4 separate regions of the Homo sapiens genome follow, and all the other regions are linked to region 1. The links are contacts of gene promoters, found by promoter capture Hi-C in blood cells and fetal thymus (Javierre and others, 2016). All regions are on one chromosome and are shown on one strand. Each heading gives the region's core, a stretch centred on a gene start or on the middle of the fragment in contact. The rest is flanking DNA. Distances are from core to core; before and after follow the strand shown. Region 1 holds the start of SSR3 (signal sequence receptor subunit 3). Region 2 overlaps LEKR1 (leucine, glutamate and lysine rich 1). Region 3 overlaps LEKR1 (leucine, glutamate and lysine rich 1). Region 4 overlaps KCNAB1 (potassium voltage-gated channel subfamily A regulatory beta subunit 1).

Region 1 (3,561 bases), core at 1,014-3,513:
AACCTCTATGAAACTAGAATATTTAATTGCTTATAATTAAGGTATAAGTTTATTGTGGTGAGGCTTGAGTTTTCTTCTCTAAAAGCTGTATTTTACAGTATGTGTGATCTTAGACTATGTTAATCCTTTACATTTTATACACTTGTATGAAAACAAACGTAATTAGCATTGAAAATGACAGAGAGTTAAAAAAAAAAAAAAGCAATAAAATAAAAAGACCAGCCTGGTCAACATGGCCTGTCTCTACAAAAAAATTAGCTGGGCATGGTAGCCTGCACCTGTAGGCCCAGCTACTTGGGAGGCTGAGGTGGGAGGATCCCTTGAGCCTGGGAAGGTTGAGGCTGCAGTGAACCATAATCATGCCACTGCACTGCAGACTGGGCAAGAACTAGACCTTGTCTCAAAAAATAATAATGACAAAAAGATCATTTCTTTAACTTCCAAAAATAGTACGTGAAGAGCCCAGAACAATTCTCTCCATAAGGAATTACATTTAGCTTCTGAAATGTTAACTTACTTGGTGGGTTTGTTTCTCTGATGAACCTCATATTAAGGCCTGTGTTTAAGTGTTCTAATTCCACCCTCAAAATCTGCTTCTGTAGCCGTGTCAGAATGATCATTGTCTCTACTTCAGTTAGTTAATAATTCTTCCTAGCATCAATGTTCCTTTCCCCCAAAATGTTTATTAATATATATATCTCAAATTAATGCTTATTAAAACCAACACACACAAATGATCTTTAAGAAGACATATAAAAATATAACATGTAGTACGTACTTTCACTTGAAAAACATACTTACTTGTGCTTGAGAACAAATTTCACATTCTTGTATGCAAAGGCTACCAAATATGTGCTTACTAGGGTCATCACACTATACAAAACAGCAGACTGAATAAGATCCATATGCCATATTCGCCAGTATAACCCTGAATTAAAATAAAAGGGGGAAGGGTACAAAAAGAAGCAAAACATTACAACCCCGCAACAAAAGCCTGCGAAATTAATTATAGCTAAGCCTGGTAAAATACCAGGTTATTAGTTATGCAATCCAATAGTATCTGAGGATCTTCAGAAGCGAGATAACCAGTAACAGTATAGTCTCAAGCTTTCCAGTTCAGAACATTTGAAAAACATCACCTTCCTATTACTAGTCCAGATGAGATTTCAACTTCTAAAATGAGAACAAACTCTGGCTCAACGTAATCACAAGTCAGACTTCAAATTTCATTCATCAGGGTACTAGCATGCGAAACACAGGCCATTCCAAAATGCCACGTGCAGCCCCAAACCATAGTTTCCTTGCTGACGTGGCTGTTATCAGAACTCCAAGCAGTGCTATGTCCAATTAGTGAGCCATCATATGGCTTCACATCACGTTAATGGCACGCTGGGTTGTATAAGGACAAAAGAGAAAAATACATTTAGTTTTAAATGCCCAACAACAGTGCAGCAAAAGACAGGAGTTCTGGAAACTTGAGCTCTACTAAAAACGACCTTGTCCAAGTCTGCAGTTTCCCAACCAAGTGAGAATTCTAGAATTGGTCCAGTAGGATTATTAAAAAGTATAAATAAGGTAGATCCCTAACCCCTGGCACTTCAACCTCTCTCTTTTTGCAAAAACCAGGAAAATTATGCAATGGTGTGAAGTAGCTCACGTAAAGATGCACTTATAATTCAGTGGGTCACTTCATGGGTTTCTCACCTAACTAATTTATGCAAAATAAGTAATAAGTTTAAAATTTCGTAACGGCAAGCAACAGTTGTATAGAAAAGGGCAGAGGCAGTATGCTTGAGTTTGTCTGTTTAAATAGAGATTCGGGGCCGCCACCCCAGAACTAGTTAACCACCTTCTCCTGGGGTGGAGCTCGGGAACGTGCGTACTTTTAACAAGTGACCTCCCCGAGTGCTGCACAGGACAATCCCAAGCGACAACACTGTGCCCAAAGAAGAGGCTCCGTGCCTCCCCGAGCTCAGGGGAGCTGGAGAGATTGCCGACCCCCGGCCGGCACCCACGCCTTCCCTGCTCGCCGGGTCCTGCCACGTCCCCGCCCAGCCCGACTAGCCGGCGGCCTGCCTAACCCGCCTCGCTCCCAGCACTCACAGATGGGGATGGCAGACACGATGAACGCGTTTCCGAAGAAGAGCGCGGAGGACTTGGCCGAGAGATTGCGGCTGAAATCCTGCAGGAGCAGGTCCTCCTCAGACTGCTGTTTGGAGCTGCCTTTAGGAGCCATGGCGGAGCTGCAGGCGAGAACAGGGAACGTAGAGCCGGCCGCCAAGGCGGGCAAAGGCCCTTGACTCCGCCCCTGCGGCCGCCGTATCCGCTAACGACCCGTCAGCGCGGCGCGCGGAGGCGGGACCCGGTTTGGCGAAGAGCAAGCGTCCCCAGGATTGGCCAGCTTGGCGCCACTAGATAGGCTTCCGGGCGTGATTGGGCGAGCGGGCCAGACTTCCGGATTCCTGACAAGCCACGTGACCCACCCACCTGGAGGAGAGAGAAGGGATTTGTAGTTTAGTCGGTGCTTTAAAAAAAATTAACAAAACTTTATTGATATTCCACTTCAGAGCTGCTGACAGACTCACGAGTTCTCAGTTCTTCAGAATTCCAAAATTAAAAGCTCTTCTGGCCCCACGCCATTAGTGCCCTCTGTGCGTACCCAGGACTGAGTACGTTGAAGAAGAAAGAAGAGAAAGGTATAGCTAACTCATGTAAAATCCCTTCTCCTTTACACATCCTTTATTTCATTAAATACCTTGAAGAATCTTATGACGTGCGCATCATTACCGCCATTGCAGCTGAAGAGCCTGAGGGTCGTAGACCTGCGGTGTGGGTCTCCAAGGCGTGGGCTCTTTTCACTAAACAATAGGCCACCTCTGTAGGAAGAAGAAAATGGGACTCTTGCTTTTAAGAAACTCATGATCTCATTGATGAAGGCAATATTTAATATATGTCTGATACAAGTTACTACTATTTTATTTTATTTCAACTAGACCTATAGAGTTTTGTGGCTTCCAAAGCCATGCTAAATAAAACATAATACTAAGAACAGGTTGGCTAGGCAAGACTCCCTCTCTGAAGCTCAGAAGGATTAAGTATGTCTATTAAAACAGCTAGATTCCATTTTTAACTCAACACATTATCATTTTTTCTTCAAAAAAAAATTCAACCACATCACTCCCAGCAAATGCTACTTTTGATTACTGAGAACACTCTAGTGCATTAGGCACAATTTCCTCAACCTCCAGCCTCCTTATTAACCGTTTGGTAGATATCTTTCTTCCTCACAGTATCCAAATTGTAATCTACCTCCACAGCTTCCTATTACTAGTCCTAATTGGGCTTTTGTCTTCAATCTTTTCCAGTCTATTCTCTATACAGGTACCAGAGTGAGTTTTCCTGAAATATAAATCCTTCCATTATCTACCGCAAGTGTTCCTTAATGCCAGAAGTTTTCATTAATTCACCACAAAATGAAAAAGAAAAAAAGACCATCTAGTGAATTTTTCAGAAAATCAAAAGTATTCATTTAAAAATATCTGGGTTTATGTCTTTTTTGAT
Region 2 (3,153 bases), core at 635-3,134, 300 kb after region 1:
CAAGCATTTCACTTGCATTTCAAATTTCTGGATGTTTAGTATTATAGAGTATCCTCTTATTTAGAAGCTTTCCTCTGTATCTGTTATGACTCCATTTCTCTTTCCTTGAGTAGTTTATTTGCGTTTGATTGAGAAAGAGACAAGAAAGAGAGTGAAGGACAGAGAGAGAGAGAGCTTTTTTTCCTAGGAAAATAAACAAATTTGTCTATTTTGGCCTTTTTAAAGAACCAGATTTTTGTTTAAATTAATCAAATATGTTCCTTTTTAAAATTTATATTTATCAGGCCAGGCGCGGTGGCTCACGCTTGTAATCCCAGCACTTTGGGAGGCCGAGACAGGCAGATCACCTGAGGTCAGGAGTTTGAGACCAGCCTGGCCAACATGGTGAAACCCCGTTCTCTACTAAAAATACAAAAATTAGCTGGGTGTGGTGGAAGACATCTGTAACCCCAGACACTTGGGAGGCTGAGGTGGGAGAATCGCTTGAACCTGGGAGGTGGAGGCTGCAGTGAGCCGAGAATCATGCCACTACATTCCAGCCTGGATGGCAGAGCGAGACCCTGTCTCAAAAAAAAAAAAAAAAAATCTGTTTTCTATCCTTTCTTTAATGTTTAGTTTTCTTTCTACTTACTTGAGTTGAAGTCTTTGGTTAATTTATTTTCAGTCTCTTTTTCTAATAAATAAATTTAAAGCTATTAAGTTTTCCTGTGGCAACAGTCTTTGGCAACAACAAACTTTTTGATAATAGTATTTTATTTTCATTTACTTCTAAATAAGATGAAGTTTAGTTTTTATTTGCTTTTTAATCCAAGAAATACTTGGAGGAATGTTTTTAAATTTCTAAATGGATAGGTTGTTTTTTGACTATCCTTTTATCTATGTCTATTTTTATTCCAGGTTGAAGAGAATATAACCTATTTGGGAGACCGTATTAAGAGTTTAATAAACAATAAGTTTTGGAAATATTCTGTAGTTACTCAAAAGTGTACATAGTCTCCTTTTAATGGATATAACTTTGTAATAGATCCATTAAATTACACTGGTTAATTGCAGTATTCAAATTACATATATTTGTACTTAGTTTTGTCAGTTTCACTTGAAAAATGATAAGGGAATATTGAAGTCCTTCAAAATGAATATGGATTTATCAGTTTCTGTCTATGTCAAAATTAAGTTCATGGGGGTATATAAAACCATCTTTTTAGATTTTATATGTTTTGCTGATATAGAATATCCTTCTTGACCTTAAATTTTTCTAACACTGGATTAAAAAAATTATAGTTTGTATCTTTACACTTCACAACGTTTTATACTGACTTTTTAACAAATTAATAAACTTTATTTTTTAGAGCAGTTTTAAGTTCACAGCAAAATTGAGTGGATCAGAAAGTTTTCATATAACACAGTCCCCACACTCACACAGCCTCCTCTTCACACCACAATGATACATTTGTTATAGTTGATAAAGCTACATTGACACATCATCATCATCCCAAATATATAGTTTACATTACGTTTTACTCTTGGTATTATACATTCTAAGGGGTTTGACAAATGTATAAAGACATTATCCACCATTGCAGAATACAGAATAGTTTCATTAATACAGAATAGTTTCATTCATACAGAACAGTTTCACTACCCTAAAAATACTCTGTGTTCTACTTATGCATCCTCCTTCCCCGTTAACACTTAGCAACCACTGATCTATACTGTTGGTGTTTGGCTGGAGTACGGCAAGTACTGCCAAGAATACTTTCTGTCATTCAGTCACCCTTCCCCTACTCAGCTAGGTGGATTAAATTTTTCTTGGAGCTCTTTTTTGTCTATGGCTGTTGGTGGTTCTGGGTTGGAGACTTCGACAGCACCTTGTCTGGGATATATGAGAGTCAATAAGAAAACTCATGGATTTTATTGCCTTGGTATTTATCAAGTCCGAAGGTCCCTAGGCCATCTGCCTTCTTTCCACTTTTCAGAGTCTTTCTATGCTGCTTATGTTATGTTCGGGGTGTTTCAGTTGTAAGGAGGATCTGGGAACAATGGGACTACTCCATCTTGGTGGAAATCTTGGGTTGGTTTTTTAGTCAAATTAAATATTATTTTGAGTAACTTAGAATATTTCTAAAGAAGGTAATTGGTTAAATTCTCACAAATATCAGTAGATTACAGAAGTCAGTAGTTACACAATAAAATGCATCTCTAAGTGGCTGTTAAACATTTCCTCTTCAGTTTCTCCTCCGCTTATGCCAAATTGAGACTGTCATGTGGAGAGTTAATCCACAGTAATGTAGGCTTGTTTATGAGGGACAGCACTTAAGAGTTCGGTTGGCAATTATCTCATGTTAGGTGAGCCAGATAAGTCAGTTTAGAGCAGTCAGCCCAAGGATAGGGCTACCTAAGGTAGGTACCAAAGGTCCAGAGATCCAGACTGAGTCTACAGTTTGAGACCAAATTAATGCAGAGAGTGTGTCTGAATTTACAAATGGAGAGAATTGGAGGAAATAAGTGTACCTGGCTGGAGTAGAGGGTGATGGGGCAAACAAGGCAGCTTTTGTTAGTCATTTTCCTTCCTTGCTAAACCTACCTACCTCCAACCTAGACTGGCTGGATCAGTTAGGAATACAATCTATAGTAAGTGGCTTAAATGGACAAAGGTTTATTTCTTGAAGGAAGAAGAAAGGGTATGGGCAGCTTAGTGATGTCACCAGGAACTCAATCCCTTTCTATCTCTCATTCTGTCTTGCTCAGTAAGTAGGCTTTTAGCCTTATACTGGTCTTATGATTTCATCATGGCTTCTGTATCACCAGATATCATGTTTAATTTCTAGGCAGGAATATGAAGGGGGAAGCAGTCAGGGGAAATGCTTATATTAGGAGATCAAAAACTTTTTCAGAAAGTTTCACCTTATGTGCTATTGGTCATGACTGCAGAGGAGTCTGAGGCATTGGCTGCAGGGTGTTGGCTTGTTGCTTCCTGAAACAATATCAGGTACTGTTGTAAGGAAGAAAAGGAAACAGACACTATCAGGGCCTGCCTCACTGGGCCATTAGATTTTTCTCCAGAGTATAATGTGTATGCTTAATTTCATTCACTGAGAGGAAGAAAAATAGTATCTTGAGAAAATAAATACATCAACAACTCCCTTTATAAAA
Region 3 (3,430 bases), core at 436-2,935, 280 kb after region 1:
TCCACATGGTCAACAGAGTCAAGCTCCCAAGGACGTAAAACAAGATGAGAAGGAAATCTCGTCCAGTTTTTGTTTCAGGGACGTGCAGCAAAGTTTGTAACTGACCAGCCCACAGGGCCAGCTTGAGCATTGGGCTTATAGGGATCCTAGGCCCTTGTTCTATCCTACGGTGCCCCTCTCCATGACAGAAGACACATAAAGATAAAAACTGAGAGGAAAGGAGTGAAACAATGTGAATATTCATAGCACAAAGTGCACTAGATTTGCTACAGCCTCAGACTAATCACACAAATCCTTTTTCCCATTAATCAGACTTTGCAAAGGAGACAGTGATTTTTACCATCAGTTTGCGCAGAAAGGGGCCAGAAGCCTGGCTGGTAGGAAATTCTTACCCTTTTGCCGGCATGCTAGCTTTCCAGGTTCCTTATCTCTCAGCAGCTTTGGTGATGCTGCTTGCTGTACCATAGCTGTGGGGGCCATGCTGCATTACAAAAGAAAATCATCTCTTTCTGTTTCATGGAATCATAGTCAAAAACCTCATTTTGCAAGATGTAGCCAGGCTACATGGGGGATCCAAAATGACGTTTTTTATTCCAGGCAGAGGAAAATACACATGACAAAACACAGACACCAGTCACCCCGCTTAGCATCCAAGTATTGACCTGGCAAGGCTTAAACTTGCCTCTGTTGGCCCGTGTTGTCTTTGATCCACTCAAAGTGGGGTGGGGTGTTCTCCAACCAGGAGTTTCAACAGGTGATCTTTAAGCAACATGGAAGAGTGGATAGTCACCCTGAGTTAGACCTGTTGAACTTTGTTCATGGCTCACAGAATGTGACCAACCAGACAAACTAGTACAGTCTCCTGGGCTTTCATCAGCAATTCTTTCAGGGAATTCTCTCCATATATACAAATACGCACAATGAGATAAAGACAAACAAAAAGGCCTTCCAAACCAGGATTCCTAACCAAAAATTTCCAGGAGTAATTCTTCTGAACTAACCTCTTATTCTCTAACTGGGGAGACATCTCCCCAAACCCAGAGTCTTCCTACTATTTTGGGAGAGCCAGCTAATACCCCCAAAGGAGCCAAACCAAGACACTTGAAGGAGCAGAACCAAGAACCCCAGTGGAGCCAAACCAACTGGGAGAAGGAAGAAGGTTCTGACCGTGCTTAGAATACTCAGCAGACCAGTTTAAAGATGTCTTTCTAGGAAGGATGTCTTTCTCCACTGCAATTAGGCCCAAGCACTGTGGGTCAGCAGGGCCTCACTGGGCAAGGACAGCACCAGACATGGCCTTCAGTTCCAGAGAAATAAGCAGCTGCCAGAGCTCACCTCCAATTCCAACATACTGGTGGGGGGCTGACAAACTGCAGGCAGGCACCCACAAAGGCAGATCCCAGACAGACCCCCAAACTTATAATAGCCCGATGGGTTCTTCCTCCCACACAGATGAAATCAAGCCACTGAGACCAAGCCATTGCAGTAGAGAAAGAGTTTAATGGAAACGAGGATGGCCATGCCACAGAGGAGATGGAGTTATTACTCAAATCAATCTCCTAAACAGGTTTTTAACACAAACAAAAGTGCCCTATTCTGGAAAAAAAAAGGACACAAAATGCATTAGTAAGGAGGAGACGTGAGCACCAGGATTTAAGGAAGGAAGGGATAGGCCAAATCTGTTGTTTTGTGCAAATGTAGTCAGGTTTATGATCAGGACTGCCCTTATCTATAAAACTGCTAATCTCTAGCCTTGATGGGAAAAGATAAACATCAGGTGTTAGTCTTTTGGTTGTACAACACAAAGGCTTGGACAAGGAGATTGCTTTTTCTAGACTGAGTCCATCAATGCTTTGTCTCTGAAGTCAGGAAGTACCTCAACAGTAGTCTATGGAAAGGACTGTCAATGCTATGGAAGAGAACCCTGACAGAACATTACCAAAACCTTGAAAGATTACACCATTGAAGATGCCATCATTCTTATAGAAAAAGCTGTGAAAGTCATCAGGCCTGGAACAAGAAATTCCTTCTAGAGAAAACTGTCCAGACGTTGTGCATGACTTCAAAGGATTTACAATGGAGCCAATAAAGGAAATTATAAAAGAGATTGTGGATATGGCAAAAAAGGTCAGAGGGTGAAGGGTTTCAAGATACTAATCTTGGAGAAATTCAGGAGCTAACAGACATCACACAAGAGGAATTAGCAGAGGACAACTTGGAGATGATTTTTTTTTCTGAATCAGTGCAGACAATGAGAAAGAAGACATAGTAGAGGCAGTGCTAGAAAACAAATTGATGCTAGATAATATGGCAGAAGGGTTTCAATTATTCGAGACTGCTTCTCACTTCTTTTACAACATGAACCTTCCTATGATATGGGCGCTGAAACTAAAGCAAACGTTGGAAGAAGGATTGGCACTATATAGAAACATTTTTAGAGAAATGAAAAAGCAAAAAAGTTCGACAGAAGTTATGACATATTTCCTCAAAGTTACTCCAAGCGTGCCTGTCTTTTTTGCCTCCCCTTCCACTTTCTCCACCTGTGTCATCCCTGAGACAGCAACACCAACCCCTCCTCTTCCTCTTCCTCCTCAGCCTGCTCAATGTGAACATGAGGATGAAGACATTTTTGATGATCCACTTAATGAAGATTAAATATATTTCCTCTTTCTTATGATGATTTTCTTAACATTTTCTTTTCTCTAGCTTACTTTATAAAATATGCATTAATTGAATGTTTATATTATCAGCAAGGCTTCCTGTCAACAGTAGGCTATTAGTAGTTAAGTTTTTGGGGAGTCAGAAGTTGTACATGGATTTTCAACTATGTGGAGGGGAGGTTCGCACCCCTAATGTCCATGTTGTTCAAAGGTCAACTATATATCAACTCATTTAATCTAATTAACACGCAGTTCTTTAGTTTTTATGCTGTTCTCTTCCCTGTTAGTTCACATCTGTACCCAGGACAAGGCATTTTCCCCATATTTAGCTTGCAATCCATACATTGTTAATAGTATATTTTTAAAAATCTCTTTGAAAAAGATTGACTTAAATTGTGAGTTATAACCTCAAACTTTATCATCAATCTTTCGGGTTTTTCAGTAAATCTAGTTAACTCTTAATTAACAACTAATCTGTTACATTTTGATTAAAATTTGCAGTCAGCTCTCAGATATGCTTTTGTCCATTGTGCATGTACCTTTGGGCTGCCTGTTAGCATTAACCATGCCATCGATTTAACTTGATGCTTACTGTTGCTGCCTGCCCTTCAGATTTATGTAAACTGTAACCCAGCAGGAACAGGAAGAGAAGTCCATTTACATTTACCATAAAAGACCTTTTAAATCATTACATTCAATTATCTTCACCTTTTAAGTTAGGTGTAAAAGAGTAAGCACAGAGAGGGTTCAGCTATACTTGTACTCACCTG
Region 4 (3,178 bases), core at 627-3,126, 390 kb before region 1:
GAGGGAGGCAGAGCTTAGGTGAACAAAGCAGAGGAGACTGAAGAAGGGAGCAGTCTCCACAATCAGCATTACTGTGTTTCATGTATTGAGTCAATACCCCTAACTAATAAAAGATAGCATGAAGTTTTACTCCATTGATCAACACCTTAATTTGCTTACAGATCTTTTATATTACATTTGCCTTTCTCTTCTAAGCAAATGATGTTTTGTTATAGTTAGTGTTTTTATATGTATTTATCTTTAACATTATATCTGTATTGCGGCTTTATTCCCTTTTGTTCTTCTGAGCTCTCCTGGTTTTTCTTTTCAATGTAAATAATTAGTTCTCACTTTTCAAATGTAAATTATTAATTCTCACCATTTTGAATCTCCTTGAATTGGGGACTTGTTTACTGTGTTCTCACAAGGGCATCTCTGCCTTCTTGTTGGATCACAGAGTAGTTCCTGGAAGGTGTGTAAGGGATTCTAAGGCTGTGCTCATGTGCAAAAGAAAGCCTTTTGCGATGTTGGGAACTGGGGTGTGTGAATCACCTGATTTCTGGCTGGAGCTTGGGCCCCTCATTTTTTCCATATTCAGATGTTCAGCGAACATTTGTATATTACAAGAGAAAGAGAGAAATGGCCTTACTTAAGGGAAAGTAATATGCCACGATACACAGCAGAAGTAAGGAGAAAGACTAATGTCTCAGATGATATGCTGTGCTTTACTGTTAAGTGTAGTGTTGAAAACAATTATCAGTGTCATGCCATGGGCATGAGGCAGAGATGAGGCAGCACATCTCTCTTTTCTGAAAGTTCCAAGGTCTGTGGAGGCACACACTCAGTTTTTAATACATAAAAAGGGTCTAGAAATCTTATCTTTGAAAAGGAACAGGGGAGCAGAGGATGCATTTGAAAACAAACAGTAATATAAGGAGCTATAAAGAAACTGTGTAGTAGCACTAGAGAGATACTAACAAATTAAGAATGAATGCGCAATCCCAAAACAAATGTAAACATGTTATTTTTATCATTGTGCTAGACAAATTTAAAAAATACATATATACACACACACACACACACACACACAGATAGGCAATATATGGTGTACTTTAAAACAGTCCTTATTCATGAATATCAGCAAGATCCCAGTGCTTCTTTTATGGGTTTACATCTTTTAAAGCATTTCCAGATTTCATTTGCTAGCTGTTTGCAAACATTCTCTTTGCTTTTGTGGTAATTGCACTATTGTACAGACTGTTTCAGCTAAATGTCTAATGGAATTGGTAGAATGTATGGAGTGAATAAATTGGTCAACAATTTTATGATAAGGGATTGTATTCCATTTAAGCATCTCCCCTTCTAATAAAATTCTCCTAGATGATTGAGCTTTTCATGTAACGTTCTGCGAAGGCTTTTTAGGATTTGTAGGAACCGGTTGATGTTTATGGCGGTTTAGTGTGGCAGGACATTGGAAGTCATCCTGGACATGGGCACCTCTTGGTTGTGCTAGACTGTCCCTGAAGGGCAACAAGTCTCCATTCCTGACCAGTGCTGCTCTAGAAGTCCAGCACCCTACTCTGGCTCCAACAAGACAGAGTCCATGGGACCCCAGGGATGTGCCCAGCTATCTGCATCCCCTTTCTGCACCACCATGTCCACATACCCAGAATCCTGGTATTCCCTCACTGAATGACTTACACAGCCTCTTTAGATCTCTTCCTCTAAGAGTGGACAATGCCCCAGACCACAGGTGGCCAAGCTTGAGGGTGTGGATGTGTGGGCTGGCATGTCTATCAGACGGTGGCGTGTGAGACTTTTTGCAAGGGCTGAAGGAGTAGGGAATGGAAAAGGAGGAGATTCCATCTACAGTTATGAGGCATGAGCTGGTCCCCAAGCCACACCCACTACATGACAGTGGCAATACAGTTATTGTTACGATCAAATCACTTCTGGAAATTTCTGAAATAACCTCTGGGAAGCAACAGTGCTACTGTTTTAAGCAAGAACATTGGGTTTCTTTTTTAACCAATAAGCTTTCTCTGAAGATGACCTAAAACAAACCCCAAGGGTGTTTTGTGCTATGACAACATCAATAGAATAAAAATATCATTTTTAAAGGTGCTTACTTTGAAGAAAAACTCATTGACATGTATAAAATATGATGTTTATTGAAAACAAAACAGCCAGTTTCAACAAACTTTTTAACAACAACAACAACAACAACAAAAATAAGTGGAGATTGAGATTGAATTATAAGATTTTTGTAGTATAAGGTGATATGGTGTGGGATATTCAGCCAAGAGTCAGAAAAACTGTGCTTTAGTTCTAGCATTTCCATGGAGCAGCTGAGTTATTTGGGGCACAGCCTCTTAGGATCTCATTTTTGATATCTATTAAATGAGAGGGGTTGGACAGAATGCTCTCTATACTTTCTTATATGTTTGGAAGTCCTGGCTGGGCATGGTGGCTCATGCCTATAATCCTAGCACCTTGGGAGGCTGAGGTGGATGGATTGCTTAAGCTCAGGAGTTAGAGACCAGCCTGGGCAACATGGTGGAACTCTGTCTCCTCAAAAAATACCAAAATTAGCCATCTATGGTGGTGCACACCTGTAGTCCCAGCTACTTAGGAGACTGAGGTGGGAGGATAGCATGGACCCGGGATGCAGAGGTTACAGTGAGCTGAGATCATGCCACTGCACTCCAGCCTGGGTAAGAGAGTGAGATTCTGTCCCACCCCCAACCGCCCCCCAAAAAAGTAAGTCCTGAATGTGTAAAAACCATGTTCTCTATTAGCTATACAGCATATAAGTATCTATCAAACCGAAGATACTATCAATTGTATGGTACACCAGTAATTTGTGTACTGTTAAGAAAGAAACACACTGCCTATTATCATTTAAAGAGACAACAATAAGAATACGGTTTTAAAATTTAAAAAATTTAAAAGGCTGTAGGAAGCATTCCAGTTTAGAAATGTGAAAATATAAAAAATATATCTTAGAGTCTCTAATACATGGTGATTATTATTTTATTCATCTAAATATTTTTCACAGAGTCTTGCACAGTACCTACCATATCTATTAAAAATCTGTGTATTCATTCAACAAGTGAATATAAATTTGATGCTTATTATATGTTAAGCAATACAACATGGATACATCAAAATGTACTGAATAATGGAATTTTTGAAGTAT

Evidence for each region. Contacts are between HindIII fragments. The CHiCAGO score rates a contact against its expected background, and 5 or more counts as called.
Region 2: a contact is called between a fragment that was not itself captured here and the fragment with the promoter of SSR3 in region 1, in 1 of 17 cell types (non-activated CD4 T cells). The highest score is 5.7, in non-activated CD4 T cells.
Region 3: a contact is called between a fragment that was not itself captured here and the fragment with the promoter of SSR3 in region 1, in 1 of 17 cell types (total CD8 T cells). The highest score is 5.2, in total CD8 T cells.
Region 4: a fragment that was not itself captured here is called in contact with the fragment with the promoter of SSR3 in region 1 in 2 of 17 cell types (total CD8 T cells and total B cells); the score reaches 5.4 in total CD8 T cells.

What each region holds. Positions count from the first base shown.
Region 1 is chr3:156,552,854-156,556,414 of GRCh38, forward strand. SSR3 (signal sequence receptor subunit 3) reads right to left here and starts at 2,264. Exons shown (of 5, transcript NM_007107.5): 1 at 2,104-2,264; 2 at 802-928. The coding sequence starts at 2,236. RefSeq lists an enhancer at 2,123-2,202. The HindIII fragment of the contact is 5,682 bases long and covers 1,106-3,561 here.
Region 2 is chr3:156,858,108-156,861,260 of GRCh38, forward strand. All of the region lies in intron 3 of LEKR1 (leucine, glutamate and lysine rich 1), which reads left to right. Among named protein-coding and RNA genes, the nearest start is that of LEKR1, 33 kb to the left of the region's middle. The HindIII fragment of the contact is 3,639 bases long and covers 66-3,153 here.
Region 3 is chr3:156,837,424-156,840,853 of GRCh38, forward strand. The region is part of intron 2 of LEKR1 (leucine, glutamate and lysine rich 1); the gene reads left to right. Among named protein-coding and RNA genes, the nearest start is that of LEKR1, 13 kb to the left of the region's middle. The HindIII fragment of the contact is 4,289 bases long and covers 1-3,430 here.
Region 4 is chr3:156,165,487-156,168,664 of GRCh38, forward strand. All of the region lies in intron 1 of KCNAB1 (potassium voltage-gated channel subfamily A regulatory beta subunit 1), which reads left to right. Among named protein-coding and RNA genes, the nearest start is that of KCNAB1, 46 kb to the left of the region's middle. The HindIII fragment of the contact is 274 bases long and covers 1,740-2,013 here.